Regions from separate parts of the Homo sapiens genome. Here region 2 is linked to region 1. The links are contacts of gene promoters, found by promoter capture Hi-C in human tissues and cell types (Jung and others, 2019). All regions are on one chromosome and are shown on one strand. The core of a region is centred on a gene start or on the middle of the fragment in contact, and the rest is flanking DNA. Distances in the headings are between cores, read along the strand shown.

Evidence for each region. Contacts are between HindIII fragments. The study calls those that stand out against the background at their distance.
Region 2: a fragment that was not itself captured here is called in contact with the fragment with the promoter of CA6 in region 1 in 3 of the 25 tissues and cell types used here (bladder, lymphoblastoid cells and spleen).

Annotation. Positions count from the first base shown.
Region 1 is chr1:8,943,393-8,948,693 of GRCh38, reverse strand. It overlaps CA6 (carbonic anhydrase 6), which reads right to left and starts at 2,826. Exons shown (of 8, transcript NM_001215.4): 1 at 2,729-2,826. The coding sequence starts at 2,807. The HindIII fragment of the contact is 10,958 bases long and covers 1-5,301 here.
Region 2 is chr1:9,097,023-9,102,323 of GRCh38, reverse strand. It overlaps GPR157 (G protein-coupled receptor 157), which reads left to right. Exons shown (of 4, transcript NM_024980.5): 4 at 1-2,019. Among named protein-coding and RNA genes, the nearest start is that of GPR157, 29 kb to the left of the region's middle. The HindIII fragment of the contact is 3,861 bases long and covers 1,382-5,242 here.

The DNA.
Region 1 (5,301 bases), core at 1,577-4,076:
CCGGCCTGAGAGTGTTTTATACGTAAATTTTTGCTCTCGTTTGACTTATTTCCAGCTGGTGAATGCATGGAGGGATCCTTGGCTTTGCTCTTCCTGTGCTGCTCCTGGGGCCTCTTCCTCATTTCCTCCCAAGGGCCCAGTTGTCCTTCCATGCCCCCAACAGGAACACAGCCCCCACCTCCCCATGCTGCAGGAACCCCCCACCACTATTTTCTTGCTCCAGCCCCTTTTATGGATTCCCGTATGGTAAAGACCATCTAGGTGTCTACACTTATGGATTCAGGGAAACTAAGGAAGCATCAGGTTCCAGGACAACCTAGAATGAGTACTTTTTTAAAATTCATAAGGAGAAAGTTTATCTTTTCAGAGAGGGTTGATAATCGTAGGGGACAGAGTAACATAGGTGAGTGATTATCATGGTGACTTGGCTCCCATACAGCTGTGGAGCTTGGAGTCAGCCATGTGACATGGAGAATCCCACCTCTGTTCCCTGTTCGGGGGTAGCTGTGTGGTGAGTACACAGCTTGTTTTAAGACAGGTGTTTGTGGCTGGGCACGGTGGCTCATGCCTGTAATCCCAACACTTTGGGAGGCCGAGGCGGGTGGATCACCTAAGGTTGGGAGCTCGAGACCCACCCTGACAAACCTGGAGAAACTCCATCTCTACTAAAAATAAAAAACAATCAGCCGGGCATGGTGGCACATGCCGTTAATCCCAGCTACTTGAGAGGCTAAGGCAGGAGAATCACTTGAACCCAGGAGGCAGAGGTTGCGGTGAGCCGAGATCGCGCCACTGCACTCCAGCCTGGGCAACGAGAGTGAAACTCTCAAAAAAAAAAAAAAAGGTGTCTGTACTAGGGCCCTCACCGCTTTTTGGTTTGTAATCAAGGCAATTGGCCTGGAGCACAACGCCTTCTCAGAGCAAGATGCTTTGGCCCAGGGCACTGTCAATACTGGAACATCTCTCAGGTTTCCCTGGAAGGCATTTACAAAAGCTACTCTCAAGTTCTCCTGGAGCCCCTAGTAGTTTCCCAGGAAGCCCACTGTCTCAGAGGCTGGGCAGAGCCTGGGAAGGACAAGGACTTCATTGTCTGAATTCTCTCTTCCTTCACCTCTGAACCACCTGCCTGCACTGCTTGGCCAAGTGAAGCAGAATGCCCCAGGCTTCCGAGGCACTGCCATGTGTAAGATCACTGTCCTCAGGAACAGAGCGGTTGTTCAGAGCTGGCTGGACTTTCTGAACCTCCCAGGATGTCCCTAATTCCGTTGCCCTTGACTTAACAGATCATCCCGTTCACCCTGAAGGAATGCTTCCGGAGCAGCTGAACTGGGGCAGACTCTGCAGGAAGCAGATGTTTGTCTCACTTCCTGCATCAGCCAGCGGCCACCAGCCTCCTCATGGGCCCCAATCCATGGTCCCGTATGGAAAGAAGGGGGATGCGGGAAGAAGCTCTCCTCACTGCCCCTGGAAAGGGCTGTTTAGTGTCCACAAAGTCCACAGACACGGCCTTCTAGCTTTGGCTCACATGTGGACCAGAACCCATGTTGAATGCCAGGATTTTACATTTCACATTTTAAAAGTCTGGTTTGGGGCCTGGCGCGGTGGCTCACGCCTGTAATCCCAGCACTTTGGGAGGCTAAGGTGGGCGGATCACTTGAGGTCAGAAGTTTGAGAACAGCCTGGCCAACGTGGTAAAACCCCATCTCCACTAAAAATACAAAAGTTAGCCAGGCATGGTGATGAGTGCCTGTAATCCCAGCTACTTGGGAGGCTAAGACATGAGAATCGCTTGAAACCAGGAGGCAGAGGTTGCAGTAAGCCGAGATGGCACCACTGAACTCCAGCCTGGGCAACAGAGCAAGACTCTGTCTCAAAAAAAAAAAAAAAACAAAAAAAAAAACACCTCTCATTTTGGCAGCCCACAGATCAAAGGGAACTGGGTCCTTATGTCAAGATGTTCTGGGTAAACTGCCTACCATGAAATTTCCAAGAAAGAAGGTCTCGCAAACCCCACAGCACCTTCCGTGAGGTTACCGAGAGTCTTTTCTAAGAACTTTGTTTTCCACTTACACGGACCAACAAAGCAAATGGTTTTACAAATAGAAGCAGTGAGTGTGCTTTTGAACCAGCCAACACTGTGGATGGAAAAAAATTTAAAGCAAAAAGCCTGTAAGTAAATCAGGAGTTTGTGAAGGGGAAAGCTATTTCCTTCTTTTCCTTATTTGAAGTTTAAGTTCAGCTTATTCTCCATACCTTCTGAGACACTGAAAAGGTAACATCTGAAGCCACAATGAGCAGACCCCCAACATATGGCAAGTGGGCTGCCTGGCCATCCTGTGAAATGCCCTAAAGGAGGACTCTTGGCCGGGCGCAATGGCTCATGCCTGTAATCCCAGCACTTTGGGAGATGGGCAGATCACCTAAGGTCAGGAGTTCGAGACCAGCCTGGACAACATGGTGAAACCCTGTCTCTACTAAAAATACAAAAATTAGCCAGGCATGGTGGCAGGCACCTGTAATCCCAGGTACTCGGGAGGCTAAGGCAGCAGAATCACTTGAACCCGGGAGGCGGAGGTTGCAGTGAGCCAACATCACACTACTGTACTCAAGCCTGGGCAACAGAGCAAGACTTTGTCTAAAAAAAAAAAAAAGAAGAAGAAGAAGGGCACTTGTCCTGTTGTAAGGGTGTGAGGGTAACTGGGGGAGCATGCAGAAGCTAGGGGCTCACCTGAGTAGGTCCAGTCAGACACATGCTGGGCCTGGCCACCCAGCAGGAACAGGGACAGCAGAAGCACCAGGGCCCTCATGGTGCTGCACATCTGTAATGAAGACTGATTCCGGCGAAGCTCTTCTTTTAAAGGCTCAGAAACTGTAAATAACAATTTACAATTGATCTGCCCAGCTGGCTAAACCACCCTTTGCTGCACCCACTAAAACAATAACACCCTCCCCATAACAGCACTTCTGGCTCCGTGCATTGCGCCAGGCAGCCCCAGCACCTGCCTGATCTCCTCCCACGTCAATTTCATATCCGGTCAGTCCATGGGTTTGGTTGTTCAGTGTCTTAGGAACACCTGAAGAGCCACACAGTGCAGCCATTGTGGACAGGTGACCGCGGAAATGGGAAAAGGCCCAAGGCAGGGAGAAGCAGGATGAAAGACTTTCCTGGACGTCGGACTTCCCATGCTCTTTCTCCTGACATTAGAGATCTGGGGACTGCTGATGGGATCACCACTGCCTGCAAACCCTGCCCATCTCAGTCATGGACACAAGCCACCGCTGCAGACATGTGGCTGCCCTCAGCCAGGCATCCAGGGAGGTGGCCTGGCCTCCATGTTTGGACATTTCACGGTCCTCTCCTTAAACCAGTGGTTGATCCTGGGTCCCAGCTCATGAGCCACATTCCAATGTGTGCCTTTATGCCATTCAAGCTGGTGTGGGCGTCTGCATTTCTACATGGATTTGTTCTGACACCTGCAGGGCTCTTGGGCACACCTAAGCCAATCAGCCAATTGCCCTCGCAGGATCCATGGATTACCTAATCCTGTGTATTCACTTGGCTAGACAGTCCCTGAAATTAGCTGAAGGAGAAACTTTTGAGTTTATGCCTGCTGACAGGCCAGCATTTCCCATGCCCTTCCACAAGGTCAAACACAAAGGGTAGCCGGAGCTCCTGCGGGGGGGCTACCATGCTGCCGGACACAAAGGGCCACCCCTGCCTTGTTATGGGGAGCTGAACCCCCTCCTGGCCTAGCTTAACTCATTGTCCACTTGGTCCTGGAATGGCAAACGTCAGCAGGCCTTCACAACAAGGATGTTAGCGGTGAACGTAGGCCTCCCGAATACTTCTAAGACTCCCCACTGTCATTTAATAGGGAACATCAGCTGCTGCAAAGAACTTGCTGGAAACTTCCATTTCTAAAGCTCAAGAGCTGAAAGAATCTCAGAGAGAGAGCAAAGCATGTTCAAGGACAAGGATTCTGAAACTAGACAGGATCTGTGCCACCTGCTAACTGTGTGACCATGGGCAACTCAGCGCTCTGTGCCTCAGCTTTCCTTCCTTTTCTTTTTTCTCTTTCTTTCTTCCTTTCTCTCTTTCTTTTCTTTCTCTCTTTCTCTCTTTCTTTCTTTTTTGAGACAGGGTCTCTCTCTGTCACCAGGCTGGAGTGCAATGATACGATTTCAGCTCACTTCTCTTGGACTCAAGCAATCCTCCTGCCTCAGCTTCCCAAGTAGCTGGGACCACAGTCGCATGCCACTACGCCCTGCTAATTTTTGTACTTTTTGTAGATACAGGTTTTCACCATGTTGCTTAGGCTGGCCTCAAACTCCTGGACTCAAGCGATTCTCCCGCCTCGTGCTCCCAAAGTGCTGGGATTACAGGCGTGAGCCGCCGCACCTGGCCGCCTCCTTTCTTTAAAAGGAGTTAGTGATAGCACCTCCTTTGTGGGGATTCGGCAATAAATGTGCCTGCAGTAGTTGGAGCAGTGCCTGGTGTGTAGCAAATGGCATTAGCATCTATTCAGACCCCTCATTTTATAGGAAAAGGAAGTGATTTATCATTGCCACCCAGCTGGTTAGTGAGGGAACTGGAGGAAAAATGCTTCAATCTCCAGCTTATGGACCATTTCTTTGCAAAAATGAGAAACCTACTCTTCTGTCCTTGCTAAACCAGTGACGCCCACCTGCTGACTCCCAGCCCTGCGGAAAGGGCCACCTTGTAAATCACAAGGCCCCACCTCTGCTGAGGAGACCAAGACCCTTTACAAGCCCAGGCAGGACCCCTGACATCAAACTGGCAGGAAAACACAAACTCAGTCATCTGAATTTTTTCTTGGGAATCTGAATTGGGAGACCCAGAAAGAATCAGGGAGCTGCAGGCAGGCAGAGACTAAAATGTCAGGCTGTCACGGAAGCCTGGGAGGACTGGATGAGCCCAGGCGAGGGGAACTGGAGCAGGAAGGAGCTCAGAGAAAGCCTGGGCCAAGGGGGAGGGGAAGACTGCCCAAAGAGGGGCCCTGGAGAGTCAGAGAGAGGAGTGCTTGCGGGAGAGCACAGTGAAATGCAGAGGGCCCACCACTCCTGGCAGCTCCCAGCCCCACGGGTCTCACTGCCCTGCGGTGAGCATTTGGGGCTTCCCAGGAGAGCTCTGGGGCGTTCCTTGCCTCACACAGCTCCTTAAAATACAGTGCACATACTGCGTCTGTGAAGCTGTGATGCCAGCAGCCCCTCTGCAGAACTGCTGTGCAGCGTATCCACCCATCACATCTGAAGCTTTGCCCTGGTTTTGCCTTTCGCTCA
Region 2 (5,301 bases), core at 2,063-4,562, 150 kb before region 1:
TTCTCCTGCTTCCCAATCCCAAGCTGCTGGGATTACAGGCATGCGCCACCATGCTCGGCTAATTTTTTGTATTTTCAGTAGAGACGGGTTTTCACCATGTTGGCCAGGCTGGTCTCGAACTCCTGACCTCAGGTGATCCACCCACCTCAGCCTCCCAAAATGCTTCGATTGCAGGCATGAGCCACTGTGCCTGTCCAAGAAAACAGATTTCTTGATGGAAATTAGTGAGACAGACATCCCCTTAGGATTGAAAGAGAGCTCTGGGCTGCTCCAGGGAAAGCCACTTGGCAGAAATAGCCTCTGTAAGTGAATTCTGGATTCCCCTGAAGACGTTACAGCAAATCTCTGGGTATGTCTCTGGTAAAGACCCTCACTTGAGCTTCTAGAAGGGAGCGAAAATTCAGGAATTTGCTTGCTGCAAAAGAGAACATGATTAACAGGTAAAAGAGAAAAGACAATATAGGCCACAGAGGAATAGTGTTAGGATCAACCCTGCTCAGCAGGGGCCTCTGGAGCCCTCCCTGCTGTACCCAAGCCAGAGCTGAGACATGGCTCCCCAGATGGACTGGCTGTGGTCAGGAAAGGCCTGTAGAGGGAGCTGAGGGCTCAGAAAATACCTGCTCCGGGTGCCTGGGCTCAAGTTCTCATTCCATTTCTTTGATGCCACTGGCCACTGTATCTGCTTTTGTAAAAACCTCCAAAAAGTTATACATCAGGTATCTCTAGTCAGCTTCCTCCGCTGCCCACCTCTTGCCACAGATGAGTGATCACTGTGAATGGTGGTGACCAGGTGGGCAGGGCAGGGGCTTGTCTAAGTGCCTTAGCCCAGGCCCCTGGCCCATCGACCTCGAAAACAGCAATATCGCCTCCTTCTTAGATCCAGTTACCAAGTCAGTCTAGCTGGGTGGGTAGTGCTCAGACAGAAAGGCTGGATGGGAAGGAAGTCACATCCTAAAAGTCCAGGAGGGGGCCAGGCGCAGTGGCTCACGCCTGTAATCCCAGCACTTTGGGAGACCAAGGTGGGCAGATCACCTGAGGTCAGGAGTTTGAGACCAGCCTGGCCAACATGGTGAAACCCTGTTTCTACTAAATATACAAAAAAAAAAAAAATAGTTGGATGTGGTTTCGTGTGCCTGTAGTGCCAGCTACTCAGGAGGCTGAGGCAGGAGAATTGCTTGAACCCAGAAGGCAGAGGTTGCAGTGAGCCGAGACTGCACCACTGCACTCCAGCCTGGGTGACAGAGCAAGACTCCATCTCAAAAAATAAAACAAGTCCAGGAGGGGCTGTTACTTCTTTTTAGTTTATTTATTTTTGTGAGGCAGGGTTTTGCTGTCTGGAGCATCATACCCAGTCTGGAGTGCAGTGATGCAATCATGGCTCACTGCAGCCTCCACCTCCCAGGCTCAAGCGATCCTCCCACCTCAGCTCCCTGAGAAGCTGGGACCACAGGCCTGGCTAAATTTTGACTTTTTGTAGAGACAAGGTTTTGCCATGTTGCCCAGTCAGATCTCAAGCGAGGGGCTGTTACATCTGATCAGGGCAAAAGGGGCTGTGCTCCTTGGACACTTTGCACAGCCCCAGTGGGCTTCTTTCTCCTCTGTTAGTGTGGTTAATGTTCATCTGCCTGCATCCCTGAGTCACCCAAGTGTAACCTCAGCCATAACACGTACTGCAGCCGGAACGGTGTCCGCAGCTCAGCGTCCCTCTCCCATGCACTTTCTGAACTTTGGTCTTTTAACCAGGTTTACCAGCCGCTTTCTGCCTCTTTGTGCTTTTGAGGGTTTTTTGGTTTGTTTGTTCTGTTTTGTTTTTAAATAAAGATGATTATTTGGCCCAGGCTGAGGGTGCAAACAGAACTCTTCACGTGTCCACGACAAGAAAAATAGTTTTTACAAACTTCTAGTTGTGGCATCAAAAGTGTGAGTTTTTGCACCTGCAAAATTGTAATGCAAGCCCTGACTGGGTGGAAGCTGAAGTCTTGCTGTTTTAAATTAAATAAATAAATTATTTTTCTCCTATGTGTTTGGTAAAGTGATTGCCTCCTGATGTGTTGTGCAGGGTGGGGAGGGGGCGGTTGCAGGACAGGTGGCTCGCATTGGCCTGTGTTGCTGTGGTTCCAGAGCCTACCATGAGGCTGAGACCTGGAGAAGACAGCTCTGCCCTTCTCTCTTGGCAAATTAGCTAAAGAGGCAGCCGCCCTGTTGGCATAGCCAGCTTCCCCTGAGTTGACCTAATAAAGATCATGGGGGTGGAGAGATAGGGAGAGGGTTTTAGAATACAGATTCCTGGGCTTTGTCCACAAAGTTGGTGCTTACCAGGGGAATGAAAGGCACTCCTATAGCAGGACCCTAGTGTAACCGCCCAGTGGGTTCACCTTGCCTGCTGCCTAGATAGAGCCGATGAGGGTCAACAGGTCCAAGTTCCAAGCACCCATGACTTGGGGCTGAACTTGATTAAGAGAGATGCTCCAGGGCTGAGCTGCTGACCCCTTCACCCTTCATGCATGGTTGTATCACACACAGGGTGACCCGCCGCAGCTGCATCTGCAGGCCTCCTGGTGGTCAGGGACTGCTGGGACACAGGGTCTCTTCTTGGAAGGGAGCAGCCTTCCAAACGCATCTACTGGAGCTGGCTGCCTTGCTGCGTGACTTGCAGATCTGCACTGGCCATGCAGCCCCACCTCCGGTCATAGTTTTCTTGAAACTGCTCCGCCTTGGGAATTTTGCTGCCAAAAGCTCCTAAACTTTCTTCCACTGTCTGGATTTTGTGCAGTTAAAACTGCATTGAGGAGAATGGCTTGAACCCGGGAGGCAGAGATCGAAGTGAGCCGAGATCACGTCACTGCACTCCAGCCTGGGTGACAGAGCAAGTCTCAAAAAACAAACAAAACAACAACACAAACTGCATTGAATAGCCCCTAGAAGTGGCATCTTGAATTTGGTTATTAAGGTACAACATACACAAACTTAAGTAATATTAAAATAGCAGGCCTGGTCCTGCTACTTCGACGCGACCACCCTGAGGTTTGTTAACTATTCTCTCCTGCCTTTGTCTTTGCATCTCTAAACTTGATGCTATGTGCTTACCTGGGAGAAAATGGAAGCATCCCCTTGAGGCCCTCTCCTGTGACCCTCCACTCATCAACTGCCATGCGCCTTTCCCTTTCCATCTGTCTCCCCTCAGTGACCTTTTTTCACCTCTTCCCTGACCTCTTCTCCGGAGTTCTCTTCGCCTTCCTCACCCCAGCAAATGCAGCATGCATTCAGAATCCAGGCTCCGTGTTCCACACTGCTCCACACCACTCCACACCGTTCCCTCTTGCCTGACCTCCTGCTTCTGCCTATATGCAGCTCACACCCCACAGGGTCACCTCCTTCTGCTCCCATAGACTTCTAAGCGGGTCTTTGGGATGCCACAGTCTCTGCAGAAACCATACGTTCCAGGGACCACTCTACCAGGCATTTTCCCCAGAGCCTGCCAGGCTCCTGGCACAGAGTCAGGCTGTATCCAAGGGTCAGCCCAGCATGCAGCTGAGGCTTAGGCCTTGCACATAGGAAAAGCTCCAGCAGGGGAAGCTTTGGGGGCAAGGTGGACCACTTTCTGAATGAAGCATGCGTGTCTAGTAACAATTACTCACCTGTGGGAGGAGAGTCCAGAATCCAGGCTCCACGAGGAAAAGGATTTGCCAGATGTGGTGGGGTCAGGACGTTGTCACTAGCTAATAGCTGGCGTTTCCTGAGTGCTTACCCTGTGCCAGGCCAGATATGAAGTTGCCCTTCTGCGGGCAGGATCCTGGAAACTGCACGGGTCACAGGCCCATGGAGTTGGCACTGCCTGTACACAGGACAAAGCTGGTGCTTACCAGGGAAGTGAAAGGCACTCCTATTGCAGGGCCCTAGTGTAACCGCCCAGTGGGTTCACCTTGCCCGCTGCCTAGACAGAGCCGATTTATCAAGACAGGGGAATTGCAACAGAGAAAGAGCGATTCACACAGAGCCAGCTGTGTGGGAGACCAGAGTTTTATTATTATTCCAATCGGTCTCCCAGAGCATTTGGGGATCGAGTTTTTAAAGATAATTTGGTGGGTGGGGAGGGGCCAGTGAGTCGGGAGTGCTGATTGGCTGGGTCAGAGATTAAATCATAGGGAGTTGAAGCTGTCCTCTTGTGCTGAGTCAGTTCCTGGGTGAGGGCCACAAGATGAGATGGGCCAGTTTATCGATTTGGTGCCAGCTGATCCATCAAGTGCAGGGCCTGCAAAATATCTCAGGCACTGACCTTAGGTTTTACAATAGTGATGTTATGCCTAGGAGCAATTTGGGGAGGGTCAGAATCTTGAATCCTCAGCTGCATGACTGCTAAACCATACTTTCTAATCTTTTGGCTAACAAGAAGGGGATCTACCTTGAGAAAAGGGCTGCTATCTTCTTTTTTCTAAACTATAAACTAAGTTCCTCCCCAGATTAGTTCAGCCCATGCCCAGGAATGAACAAGAACAGCTTGGAGGTCAGAAGGAAGATGGAGTTGGTTAGGTCAGATCTCTTTCACCGTCTCAGTCATAATTTTGCAGTGGCAGTTTCACTAGCAGGGTCTCAGAGTAGGAGAGAACAACATTGGGGTATTTATTCTTTTTTTTTTTTTTTTTTTTTGAGACGGAGTCTTGCTCTGTCACCCAGGCTGGAGTACAGTGGCACGATCTCGGCTCATCGCGATCTCCAACTCCCAGGTTCAAGCAATTCTCCTGCCTCAGCCTCCCTAGCAGCTGGGAGTACAGGCATGCGCCACCACACCTGGCTAATTTAATTTTTGTATTTTTAGTAGAGACAGGGTTTAGCCATGTTGGCCAGGCTGGTCTTGAACTCCTGACCTTGTGATCCACCTGCCTCTGCCTCCCAAAATGCTGGGATTACAGGCGTGAACCACCACGCCTAGTCCATATTTTTGAAGATCAAAACATATAGTTTCAGATGAGTCTTTCAGCCTTCTTGGGATTAGCAAGTCGTGATGTAATCCTTTCACACATGTGAGCACAGCATGATGAGGATTTGCTGGTGGCTAGTTGAATGAGTTTTGAGTCTAAGCTATCATTGGATGCTTTCTATTGAAGAGCTGATGAATCTTTCCAGGAAGTTCCTGGAGTGAACCATAAAGTTATTTGCAGCAGTTGTCTTGCAGGACAAGAATCTCCTGGGCATAGTGAAGTGATATTGATGAAGGCAGCCGTGTGTTTATCAAGTCATCTTACAGTAGACAAGCTGAGGGGATGGCTTTGATTCTCCAAGGAAACGAGAAGCAGGTGGGTC